Linked DNA regions of Homo sapiens: region 2 is linked to region 1. Evidence: promoter capture Hi-C in human tissues and cell types (Jung and others, 2019). All regions are on one chromosome and are shown on one strand. The core of a region is centred on a gene start or on the middle of the fragment in contact, and the rest is flanking DNA. Distances in the headings are between cores, read along the strand shown. Region 1 holds the start of NKIRAS2 (NFKB inhibitor interacting Ras like 2). Region 2 overlaps ATP6V0A1 (ATPase H+ transporting V0 subunit a1).

What was found. Contacts are between HindIII fragments. The study calls those that stand out against the background at their distance.
Region 2: a contact is called between a fragment that was not itself captured here and the fragment with the promoter of NKIRAS2 in region 1, in 2 of the 25 tissues and cell types used here (lymphoblastoid cells and spleen).

What each region holds. Positions count from the first base shown.
Region 1 is chr17:42,015,743-42,022,171 of GRCh38, reverse strand. It overlaps NKIRAS2 (NFKB inhibitor interacting Ras like 2), which reads right to left and starts at 2,082. Exons shown (of 4, transcript NM_017595.6): 1 at 1,968-2,082; 2 at 501-608. The coding sequence starts at 594. It overlaps DNAJC7 (DnaJ heat shock protein family (Hsp40) member C7), which reads left to right and starts at 4,733. Exons shown (of 14, transcript NM_003315.4): 1 at 4,733-4,832. The coding sequence starts at 4,756. RefSeq lists silencers at 1,789-2,198, 4,425-4,574 and enhancers at 4,685-5,094, 5,165-5,214, 4,325-5,524. The HindIII fragment of the contact is 10,906 bases long and covers 1-6,429 here.
Region 2 is chr17:42,487,020-42,493,448 of GRCh38, reverse strand. ATP6V0A1 (ATPase H+ transporting V0 subunit a1) reads right to left here. Exons shown (of 22, transcript NM_001130021.3): 10 at 6,082-6,294; 11 at 2,812-2,962. Among named protein-coding and RNA genes, the nearest start is that of MIR548AT, 4.5 kb to the left of the region's middle. The HindIII fragment of the contact is 3,999 bases long and covers 516-4,514 here.

The sequences.
Region 1 (6,429 bases), core at 833-3,332:
AATGGCGCAATCTCGGCTCACCGCAACCTCCACCTCCCGAGTTCAAGCGATTCTCCTGCCTCGGCCTCCCGAATAGCTGGGATTACAGGCATGTGCCACCACACCCGGCTAATTTTGTATTTTTAGTAGAGACAGGGTTTCTCCAAGTTCGTTAGGCTGGTCTCGAACTCCCGACCTGAGGTGATCCACCCGCCTCAGCCTCCCAAAGTGCTCGGATTACAGGCGTGATCCACCGCACCCGGCCAATGGACATTAATTTTATGCTAATTCCATGCTAAGCACAAGTGTGACATGACAGCTTCTCTTTCCTATCTTGGACATAGGGCTTTCTCCCTCCGTATTTGTTCAGTGTTGTAGAGTTGATCTGTTACAATGTAAGTTTTATTCTTCCAGGGGGGAAAACCACCAGGAGCAGCTTTTAGCCTGTGTGTGTTGTGATCAAGTCCTATTCCTTATTTTTCAACTTCTTCCACTGTTCCTCCCCCTCCAACAACACTCACCCACTACATGGTTCCCATACAGAAGCTGCTCCAGGATTGAAGTTTTGCCCACAGACGCCTGGCCACACACGACCACCTTGCAGCTCTTCCCCATGCTTAGTTTTCAACCTTGAAGAACAGAAGCACGCTGGGTAAGGTGAGGAAAGAAAGCATCAACACAGAAGGCAGTTACTAGCAGATGTTTTCTGGTGGACAAAAACAAAAACCAAAAAAACAGAAGGCAGAACGTCCATAACTGAGAGTTCTAAACTGAATGTATAGTTCTAAACTGAATGTATAGTTCCAGGGTTTCAGCACCATCCCAATGCTAGTCAGAGGAAACGGATGTCTCCATGTCTACTACTGGATGGTAAGCTGTTATTTTATTCGTCTTTGTTATCCCCAGTACCTAGCCAGTATCTGTCACAGGGCAGGTGCTTGGAAATGCTGCCATAAAGGGAGAGGAGAGTCACTGGCCACTGGGCCAGGTTCCCTTCTGTGCGCAAGATGTAGAGGACCAATTAGTAAAGGGAGCTCAGCCCAGCTTCCTCTCTTTAACCATGACCCCATGGAGAATTAAGCAGGAACAGTGTTTTGTGTGGCTGTCTGAAGCCATCTGCTCCCTGGGGGGACTGAGCAAATAAAAAGGATAATCTGGGGCAGGGCACGGTGGCTCACGCCTGTAATCTCAGCACTTCGGGAGGCCGAGGTGGGCAGATCACAAAGTCAGGAGTTCGAGACCAGACTGGCCAACATAGTGAAACCTCATCTCTACTAAACATACAAAAAATTAGTCAGGCGTGGTGGCGGGTGCCTGTAATCCCAGCTACTTGAGAGGCTGAGGCAGGAGAATCGCTTGAATCCAGGAGGCGGAGATTGCAGTGAGCCAAGAATATGCCACTGCACTCCAGCCTGGGCGGCAGAGCAAGACTCCGTCTCAAAAAAAGACAATCTGCTTTCCTGTACGACTCATCTGGACAACAATCAATTCCCTCTAAACTCCAGTCAAGTCTATGGCTAAAATGAACATAAGACAAGAGAGAAAAGAATGAAGAAACCTACGGAAAAAAAGGCTTCAGAAAGGACATACTTTTTGCTGCCCTTGGACTGACAGACACAAAAGAGAAAGCTCAGATACAGAAACCCTAAGAGGTCCCAGACAGATATCTCCCCGAAGGCAAACTTCCAAACACAAGCCCCCCAAAAGCTCCAGACAAAGATCCCCCCCAGAGAGCAGAGATAGATCACTCCCAAAGACGGTCCCTAACAGAAACCTCTCCAGGGGAAGCTCCTGACACAGACCCCCTCTCCATATAGCGAGCCCCACAATAAAGGACACCATAAGAGTGGGCCAGAGGTGCCTCCGCCACAGATTTTCTCACGGGGGAGCCCCCAGAGGGAATGAGAGGCAGAGACCAGCCACCTAAAGCGGCCCGGAGGCGGAGGCCGATCCTAGCGCCGGACGAGCCTCGCCTCCCAGGTCCGTACCTCCCGGGGCCCCCGCAGCACCAGCCGGGCCCTCCGAGCTCGCGGGGACCAGGGGAGGGGCAGCGCCGCCGCAAAGGCTCCAGTCTTCCTCCAGAGTCGGTGTAGGCTCCTCCAGGCCCCGCCCCCGCCGCCTGCCCGCTCCCCAGCTTCCGTCAGGCAAGACGAATTCCGGCAGCGGAGAGAGAGCGCGGACCGCGCAGCTCCCCCAGAGGCCGGCGGGAGAATGACGGCCAGGACCTGGCCTGGGTGTGCGCGGGAGCCCAAGGTTCTAGACTCCCTGGACGCGGGCCGCTGGGTGTTCTGGTGTCTCTGAGGCCCAGATGTTCTCTCTGTAAAGGCGATCAGAGTACAGTAACTCTTCGTTTACTCAATCATTTATTCGTCAAATGTTTTCTGAGCATCATCTGTCTGTGCCTGGTGCAGGGCCATATACTGAGAGAAAGTGGACGAGTTAGACATGGTGGCTGCCCATCAGAACTCACGGTCTAGAGAAGCTAGATGTCTAACAACTACTGAGGTGCTGTGGAGCACAGCAAAAGGGCATTTAACGTTGAGTCAGCAGACACTGAAGGGCCTGGGGGAAAGGGTGTTCTAGGGTGGAGGAAACGGCTACAAGTCATGGCATTTTCTGAAACTATGAGAACTTGGGTTCAATATTGGTGGTAGAAAGGACCTAAATATTGGTACTCAAATTAAATTATTTAAAAAAAGAAACAGATAATCAAAGGCTTTGTGTGGTAGGCCAAAGAGATCAAATTGACGGCAATGGAAAGCCATTGCCAATGAAGAGACATGATCAGTCCCTGAGGAAGGTCACTCTGGCAGAAGAGGGAAGACTGAACAGAGATGAAATTAGAGACCGATTAGGAGACTATTGATGTATTCCAAGTTTTTTTTTCTGTTGTTTTGTTGTTGTTGTTGTTGCCGTTTTTGAGACAGGGTCTTGCTCTTTTCTCCATGCTGGAGTACATTGGTGTGATCATAGCTCACTGCAGCCTCTAACTCCTGGGCTCAAGTGATCCTCCTGCCTCAGCCTCCCAAATAGCTGGGACTACAGATGCATGCCACCACACCCAGCCTATTCCAAGATTTTAAAAAATGATGAGCGCCTGAATCGGGATGGAAAGGTGGAGATAGATTTGGGAAATATTTGGTAGGAGAATCAACAAAACTTGGCAACAAATTGGAAGCCAAGAGTGAGAATGGTTTAATCCATTTAACAAGATACGGAATTTAGGAAAGATAATAATTACATCCAACATTTGTTTTTTCTGTTGTTGAGGTGTGGGTAGACAATGAAAAAGTTAAATTTAAATATGGTAAGCCTTGGGGATTTGTGAAACATACAAGAGATATCCAGTAGATAGTTGGATATACAGCTGTGGAAGCTGAAGAAAGGTCTAGGTTGGAGATATGAAAAGTTGAGAGTCATCAACAGATGGAAGTAAAGCTGTGGGAATAAATGAGTTGCCTTAGATAGAACATAAAGTGGGAAGATGGTGAGACAGGTTGGCTAGCATTAGACTGGACTATGAGCCACTGGCAGGCAGGGCAGGTGGTCTGTAAGTCTTGTGCCCTCACAACCTAGCACAGAGTAGGCGTTTTGGAAAGGGCTGAGTGATTGGCTCAACGAATGACCCCTCCTTTCCAACCTAGTGAGCTTGTCCTATCCCTCCCTACTCAGTGGTCGCTGTGGTTTCAGCTCCCTCCACACTGGGATAGGCAGAGTATGAGCATTGGCACATGCTGTTTTCCTGGAACAAACAGGTAAATCCTTTTAAAATTCCTTTGCCCTCTTCTTATTTTACTCTTAGCTTTACATTGTAAAGCTACTCCTCATACTCCTCCAATTTAACCCCAGAAAGCTCCAATTTAATTCAGCTCCACAAATAGTCGTTTGGGTGAGGGAATAACAACAAAGACAGTTAAACTGTGCCCTTGTCCCCTATGAATTCTCAATCCAGACCGCATTCGGCAAGGCAAGCGTGATGAGTAGAGAGTTTATATAAGAGGTGGGAGTACTGGGGACACAAGAGCAAGGACCTCACCCCGCGAGCTTCCTTATAAACTCCAGGGCAGGGTCTGGGGCGCCATGTGTCAGCTTTCCTAGGCTTAATGCTGAGATGGCACTCCCAGGCGGCTGACATGAAAGGAGCCTTGTAAAAGGGTCAGCGTCATTAGGGTGATGAACCAGTTGGTGTTTGGAGATCCGGAGTGGATGAAAGGCGCAGGGTGAAGACGCCCTGCGTTCCCCTGGCTTGACTGGGCAGGGCTTCCAGAGAACGATGAAAGCTGGGGGAACTGAGCTCAAAGTGTCTCTTGACTTTCCCGGGAAGAAGCTGTGGACACACTCCAAGGTCGGAAAGGTAGCAGTGGGGACTCCTTCCCTACAGAGTCTTGGGTCACCTGGTCCCCACGCAACCCAGACTCCACGGAGCCTTTCAGGAAGACTCTCTAGGATTGGAAGTTGCTATGGCAATGAGGCTCTTGGAATACTGAAAGCAGCCAAGCCCTAGAGAGGCTACCACCGGTACACCCCGCCTTCCCACCCACGGGTAAAGTGGCGCCGCCTACGCACCGGCACAGCCCCTGGGCTCCCGCCCCGGCGCGGAGACCACCGTGGACATCCGGGGGCGGGAGGCCGCTCTGGCCCCAAGCGGAGCCTCTCTCTGGTAGACGAGCCCGAGGGAGCCCTTCTGGGCGCGGCGCCGCGGAGCTGCTCTATGCTCCAACCGGAAGTGCTCTTCACCGCCGGCCTCCCACCCAGCTCTCTGGTCCCGGCGGTAAGATGGCGGCTGCCGCGGAGTGCGATGTGGTAATGGCGGCGACCGAGCCGGAGCTGCTCGACGACCAAGAGGCGAAGAGGTAACCGGGTAGCAGGGTAGTAGAGGAGGCGACCTGCAGCTCCGTGGCTCAGGGAAACTCGTTCCTGCCATGATGCAGCCCCCAGCTGTTGAGGCGATGCCCCGCCCTCCGCAAACACCCCCCCATCTGAGATCAAGGCCGGATGGACCCCCTGAAGGGGCGCTCTTGGGGGTCGGCCTTCCTCTCCCGCTTCCGCCTGGCGTAGGAGCTGAGGCATGGCCTTGTTCTCCAGCTGAGAGGACGATCGTCCTTATAGGAGAGGCCGAGTCTCCGAGGGCAATTTCAGAGGTCTGGTGCGAGGTGGGGGAAGCGGCGCGGCGTCGATGACGACTTCCTTACATCGCCCCCGACCCCCGCGTTCTCTTGTTAACTTCTGTGCATTGTTGCCTGTCTGCACTTTCCGTCTCCAAAACCTTTGCTCTCCTCACCCCGTTTTCCCTTGTAATTATACCCCAGCGATCACTAGTCTGGGTTCGAAGTGATTGTGTGTCTCCATAATTGACCTGGTTGCCCCCGGTTATCCCAGAAGTCAAAGATGACAGAGAAAAAAAGGAAGAGCGAGGGGCTTATCTCGTGTTCTCTACGTCAGACTCCTCTTCCCCTGTCCTTCCTGGGTGATCTTTATCCTTCCCAGCACTGTTCTTTCTTAAGTTAAGCACCAAGGAAGAGGGCAACTGCTTGGGCGCTGTTGGCACTCCGAAGCAGCCGCAGTGGTTCGAGATTGCCAGTCGGACTAGCCAAGGGAGCTGCTGAGTGAGTGGTTTTCGAGAACGCTCTAGATTCTGGCAACAGTTAGGCCAGATTATTGGAAGTGGGGTTGGAACAGAGTTGTGGGTAGTCATACTTGTTCTAATCCTAAAGCAGAATTGACAAGAAGGTTCTAGAAGTTTGGAGCCCTTTCCTTATCAGCTGCGGGTTAGTCTGACCCTTTTGTTCAAGATATCTACAGTGCCCTCAGTCTCTTTGCAACATACTTTATATCTTCATACCAAGCCCGTTGTGTCTTCAGGCTGGGTAATTTGAGGCGGTGATGTAGAATTAGTTCATGAGATCTGAAATCAGGATTCTGAGATTTTTACTATCTAATGAGTTCGAAATATAAGAAGTACTCGGACGCAATGAATAGTTATCAAGCTTGAGGGTGGTTACCACAGCCAGATCTCAAGTTCCTGATCTGCTGGGAGCTGAGGGGCCTGACAAAGTGTAATAGGCCCCTGGGATATCAGAGAAGCCAGGACACCAGAGTCCAGTCTCTGTTCTTAATTTTGAGCTTTCATGTTGTTCCTACTTCTTCCTAGATATTTAAAGCTAAGCATCATCAACCCTTATACATCATTAAAGAGCTGCACAATGGGAAACAAAATTCCTCCCAGTGCAGACGGAGCTTAAATTAATTGTAGAGATTTACTTGTATTTGGAAAGAGTTCAGTGGTTCTTTATACTGTAAATAGGGATTTGGCCACAGGTTATTTATTTTTTATTTTTTGAGACGGAATCTCGCTCTGTCGCCCAGGCTGGAGTGTAGTGGCGCGACCTCAGCTCACTGCAAGCTCCGCCTCCTGAGTTCACACCATTCTCCTGCCTCAGCCTCACCAGT
Region 2 (6,429 bases), core at 1,266-3,765, 470 kb before region 1:
TTCTCTGACTCTCTTGTAACTCGTGGGACCCTGCTCCCAGGGCAGGCCAGCTGTCTTCTCTTTGTGCAGCAACCATGTCCCAGTGATATAAAGCTAAATATCAGATAACGTACAGATGGAGAGAGCCCAGAGCAAAGCAGTTCTTCCATAGGGCTCCAACTGAAAATGAATACTCACACTCTTGATTTAATAATTAACTCTCCAAATATAGGAGAAATCTGTGTTGTACCTAAAGTGGCCAATACTTGCTACATTTTTTCTGTCTAACCTTGGAACAGGGAAGCCAAAAAAAAAGCCATTTAAAAATATCAGACATCTTAGAAGAAACATTTTGCTTAAAACAGTTCCTGCAAATGATTTGCTAGAGAAGTCCAGGTGTTTTAGGGCTGTGAGGGCACATGAAAGAATCCAGTCTCATGAACTTTTTTTTTGAGACAGAGTCTTGCTCTGTCACTCAGGCTGGAGTGCAGTGGCACAATTTAGGCTCACTATAACTTCTGTCTCTTGGGTTCAAGCAATTCTCCTGTCTAGGCCTCCTGAGTAGCTGGGATTACAGGCATGCACCACCAGGCCTGGCTAATTTTCTTGTATTTTTAGTAGAGATAGGGTTTCACCATGTTGGCCAGGCTGGTCTCGAACTCCTGACCTTAAGTGATCCTTCCACCTTGTCCCCACAAAGTGCTGGGATTACAGGCATGAACCACCACGCCCAGCCGATGAACTTTTTTTTTTTTTTTTTTTTGAGACAGAGTTTCACTCTTTTTGCCCAGGCTGGAGTGCAATAATGCAATATCGGCTCACGGCAACCTCCGTCTCCCCGGTTCAAGTGATTCTCCTGCCTCAGCCTCCCGAGTCGCTGAGATTACAGGCAAGAGCCACCATGCCTGGCTGATTTTGTATTTTTAGTAGAGACGGGGTTTCTCCATGTTGGTCAGGCTGGTCTCGAACTCCTGACCTCAGGTGATCCACCTGCCTCGGCCTCCCAAAGTGCTGGGATTACAGGCGTGAGCCACCACACCTGGCCCAGCCGATGAACTCTTAAAGGAACGCTACCTGACAGTAAACCTGCCCCTTACATTAAATGGGCATCTTTTTGTTGTTGCCCAAGCTGGAGTGCAGTGGCATGATGTCGGTTCACTGCAACCTTTGCCTCCTGGGTTCAAGTGATTCTCAGGCCTCAGCCTCCCGAGTAGCTGGGACTACAGGTGCATGCCACCAAATCCGGCTAATTTTTGTATTTTTAGTAGAGGCAGGGTTTCACCATGTTGGCCAGGCTGGTCTCAAACTCCTGACCTCATGTGATCCACATGCCTCAGCCTCCCAAAGTGCTGGGATTACAGGCGTGAGCCACCATGCCCTGCCAGAATGAGCACCTCTTCACAGGGAGTACACAAGATCTGAGGTGTCAACATGTTTATTTATTTTTTAATAGAGATGGGGTCTCACTATGTTGCCCAGGCTGATCTTGAAATCCTGGGCTTAAGCAATCCTCCTACCTCGGCCTCTAAAAGTGCTAGGATTGGCTGGGCGCAGTGGCTCACGCCACCCAGCACTTTGTAATCCCAGCACTTTGGGAGGCCAAGGCGGGTGGATCATGAGGTCAGGAGATCGAGACCATCCTGGCTAACACAGTGAAACCCTGTCTCTACTAAAAATACAAAAAAATGGCCGGGCGCAGTGGCTCACGTCTGTAATCCCAGCACTTGGGGAGGCAGAGGCAGGCAGATCACCTGAAGTCAGGAGTTAGAGATCAGCCTGGGCAACATGGTGAAACCCCGTCTCGACTAAAAATACAAAATTAGCCGGGCGTGATGGCACATGCCTATAATCCCAGCTACTCGGGAGGCTGAGGCAGGAGAATCGCTTGAACCTGGGAGGCAGAGGATGTGGTGAGCTGAGATCGTGCCATTGCACTCCAGCCTGGGCAACGAGAGTAAATCTCTGTCTCACCTAAAAAAAATAAAAAAAAAATTAGCCGGGCATGGTGGCGGGTGCCTGTAGTCCCAGCTATTCGGGAGGCTGAGGCAGAAGAATGGCGTGAACCTGGGAGGCAGAGCTTGCGGTGAGCCAAGATCACGCCACTGCACTCCAGCATGGGTGACACAGCGAGACTCCGTCTCAAAAAAAATTAAAAATAAAATTAAATTAAAAAAACAGTGCTAGGATTAACATCTTTAATTTTAATTCAGTTATTCAACAGCATTTAAAGTGAGGCATTAGAAGAAACAATGAACAAAAAGGCCAGGCATAGTGGGTCACACCTGTAATCCCAGCACTTTGGGAGGCTGAAGCAGGAGGCTTCCTTGAGCCCAGGAGTCCAAGACTAGCTTGGGCAACATAACAAGACCCCGTCTCTAAAAAAAATTAAAAATTATCAGCCTGGGCAACATAGCAAAACCCATCTCTAAAAAAATTTTAAAAATTAGCCAGGCATGGTGACACATGCCTGTAGTCCCAGCTACTCCAGAGGTTCAGGCGGGAGAATCACTTGAGCCCACGAGGTTGAGGCTGCTGTAAGCCGTGATTTCACCATTGCACTACAGCCTAGGCAACAGAATGAGACCCAGTCAAAAAAAAATCATAAAATAAAAAATTAGCCAGGTGTGGTGCTGTGCGCCTGTGGTCCTAGCTATACAGGAGACTGAGTTGGGAGGATCTCTTGAGGCCAGGAGTTTGAGGCTGCAGTGAACTACAGTCGTGCTGCTGCACTCCAGCCTGGGTGACAGAGGGAGACTCTGTCTCAAAACAAACCAAACCAACCAAACAAACAAAAAAAACTCTAGAGGAAAAAGATAACAAGCTTTTTTTTACCTGGATTTATCTCTCGGTAAGTTCCAATTCCATAAGCATCTACTATGTTCTGAAAGCCATAGGTAAACTTGTTGGTTTTGTTATAGGTTGGGGGAGTCTGGTTTGTCTGCATCCTGTTCAAAATGGAAGGTACAGTGGAACCACTGTGTTCCTGAAAAACATTAGCACATTTATCAAACTTAGGTTATCCTCCTAATTGTGGTAGTGGTTACACAGGTGTACATTTCTTGAAACTCATCAAATGGTACACATAAAATGTATGTATTTTCTTTCATGTAAATTATATCTCAATAAAACTAATAAACCTAAAAATAAAACTAGATTATCTTTCCCAGCTTTTGGGAAAACTGGGAAAAGGTATAACATTTATAATGGAAGATTTCTATTAGATCCTCTGAAATACATCCTTAATGTGAAAAAAATTTAACTTTAAAATATGTCACCAAAGAAAATGTGGAACTGCCTCCATATCTGCCTTTTTATGAAAGTTGTTCTCCCCCTTTCATGGAGAAAGCAAAGTATGTTCTCTGGCTCTCCTTCTTCACTACCTTCTCTTAACTTCCTGATCCCTTGCAGTCTGGCTGAGCATGCTTAGGCAAAGTGACTGGCTCCTGACCAAAGAGCTTCTCTCCCCCATGCACGCCCCTGACATTGGAGATCTTTGGTGAAAATCCTTCTTCCTTAGGAGTTCTCCTCCTGCTCGCTGACCATTGCTTTTCTATCTTTGCTGGTTATTTCTGCTCTGCCTATCTCATAGCATTGCAAGACCCCAACCTTTTTTTTCTCTCTATGACCTCCCTCTTGGAGGTCTCATTCCCTTCCATTCTCATGACTCCCATTTCCTTAGCTTTGTTCCCTTGTCTGCTTGACATTTCCACATAGACCTCAATGTGCCCGGAACTGAACTTACCATCTCTCCCCAATCAATAAGCTTCTCTGGCTGAACATTTACTTCCCTCATTGGAACCCTAATTCTCCTGGCCAGTCAGCTTTGATGCCTCAAAAAGATGTTTAAATCTTTCTCCTTGTATTTCTCCTGCACCTTGCTAGGAACCAGGTAGCCCTATTGATTTTTCCTGCAGAACATCTCACAATTCATCATTTTTTTTCCCATTGTCAAGTCCTACCTGGGGATCCTTATCATTTACTACTCTATGTCTACAATAACCTCCTAACTGAACCCCTACCTACAGAATCTCTTCACTCCTCAATCCAACCTAGATACTATCAGCAGATTACTCTTTTAAAACTGCTTTGAGCCAGGAGAAGTGGCTCATGCCTGTAATCCCTGCACTTTGGGAGGCTGAGGCGGGTGGATCACCTGAGGTCAGGAGTTCGACACCAGCTTGGTCAACGTGATGAAACCCCGTCTCCACTAAAAATACAAAAAATTAGCTGGGTGTGGTGGCGCACACCTGTAATCCCAGCTACTCAGGAGGCTGAGGCAGGAGAATCACTTGAAGCAGGGAGGTGGAGGGTGGAGGTTGCAGTGAGCCGAGATCATGCCACTGCACTCCAGCCTGGGCAACAAGAGCAAAACTCCATCTCAAAAAAAAAAAAACCAAAAAACAAAAAAACTGCTTTGATCCACCAGGCGTGGTGACCCACTTTTTTTTTTTTTTTGAGACAGAGTCTCACTCTGCTGTCCAGGCTGGAGTGCAGTGGCATGATCTCAGCTCACTGCAACCTCTGCCTCCTGGGTTCAAGTGGTTCTCCTGCCTCAGCCTCCTGAGTAGCTGGGATCACAGGCACCCACCACCATACCTGGCTAACTTTTTTGTATTTTTAGTAGAGACGGGGTTTTGTCATGTTGGCCAGGCTGGTCTCAAACTCCTGACCTCAAGTGATGACCCGCCTCAACCTCCCAAAGTGCTGGATTACAAGAGTGAGTCACCACGCCTGGCCCCAACACTTTGGAAGGCCAAGGAAGGCAGATCACTCGAGCCCAGGAATTTGAGATCAGCCTGGGCAACATGGCAAAACCCTGTCTCTACAAAAAATTAGCCACGCATGATGGTGGGCACCTGTAGTCCCAGCTACCGGGAGTCTGAAGTGGGAGGATTGCTTAAGCCCAGGAGTTGGAAGCTGAAGTGAGCTGAGATGGCACCACTGCACTCCAGCCTGGGTAACAGAGCAAGATCTTGTCTCAAACACAAAATTAAAAATGTAAAAAACCACCCAAACTGCTTTGATCATGTTCCTTTACCCCTAAAGAACTTCCAATGTCTCTCAACTTCCTCTGGAATAAAATTTAAATCTTCTAAGCTATTATTTAAGAACCTTTCACAATTAAGTTCCAAACTACCTGATGCAGACAGGTACTTCTCTTCAGCTAACCCACTGTAAATCCTGTTCTTGTCCAAACATACATGGTCTAACCATACTTCCTGCCTTTGTTTTCTTCTCTTCATTCAGCAGTCTTACCAACAACTTATCATTCTTCAAAGACCTGATCAAATGCCACCTGCTTAAAGCTTTTTCCAACTCCATAGTTGGAACTCTCCTAATAAACTGTAAGATACTCGAGGGCATGTTTTATACATCTCTGTACTCCTCCAGGCACTTACAGCACTTCTGTGGACAGAGTAGTTGTTCTAATTAACTACTAAACAGAAACAGTCATATACAGAGAGGGCATCAGGAAACTGATGCCCTGGCCATGAACAACCCTGAAGAATCATGGGCATATGACCAAATTATTTCAGCTCTCTGAACTGCAGTCTCCACATATGCAAAATAAAGATATGCTATGCTACGCTATGATATACATATTATATGCCAGGCTATGTATGAAATGTGCTGTCAAGTTAAAAGACAAATAAATATATTGAAGAACTCTGAAGGTGAAATGCCATAAAAATGACATTAATGTTACTATTTATTTATTTTTTATTATTATTTTTTTTTTTTGAGACAGAGTCTCGCTCTGTTGCCCAGGCTGGAATGCAGTGGCGCAATCTCAGCTCACTGCAAGCTCCGCCTCCCAGGTTCACTTGATTCTTCTGCCTCAGTCTCCAGAGTAGCTGGGACTACAGGCGCCTGCCAACACGCCCGGCTAATTTTTTGTATTTTTTAGTAGAGACGGGGTTTCACCGTGTTAGCCAGGATGGTCTCGATCTCTTGACCTCATGATCTGCCCGCCTCGGCCTCCCAAAGTTCTGGGATTACAGGCATGAGCCACCGCGCCCGGCCAAAAATGACATTAATGTTACTATTGATGGGAACCTCTCTTCCGGGCCACGAGCTGCATTGTTAGCTTTGGGGACTCACCGTGCCCCTTCTGAGTGCAAACTGGATGGAGTCAAGGTCGGTGACAGGGCACCAGACCTCTGCAATCAAGCATTTCTGAGTCACATCTATGTTGCACAGGTTCAGGGTGTGATAGATGGCCTTCATCTTCCGCACTTTGATGAACCAGACACGGATGTTCTTAGCAGCTGCCTGCAGAACCCTCTGGCGGTGATCCTCCGTTTGATTCAGAACCTTTGGGGAGAAAAGGAACAAGCGAGGGATCCTTTTAACACCAGTTTTAGATCTCAGGGTATGAATGGCAAAGAGGCATAGCTTTCTGAAAAGAGTTGCCAGGGAATTGTCTTTTTCTTCCTCTGGCTAGAATGG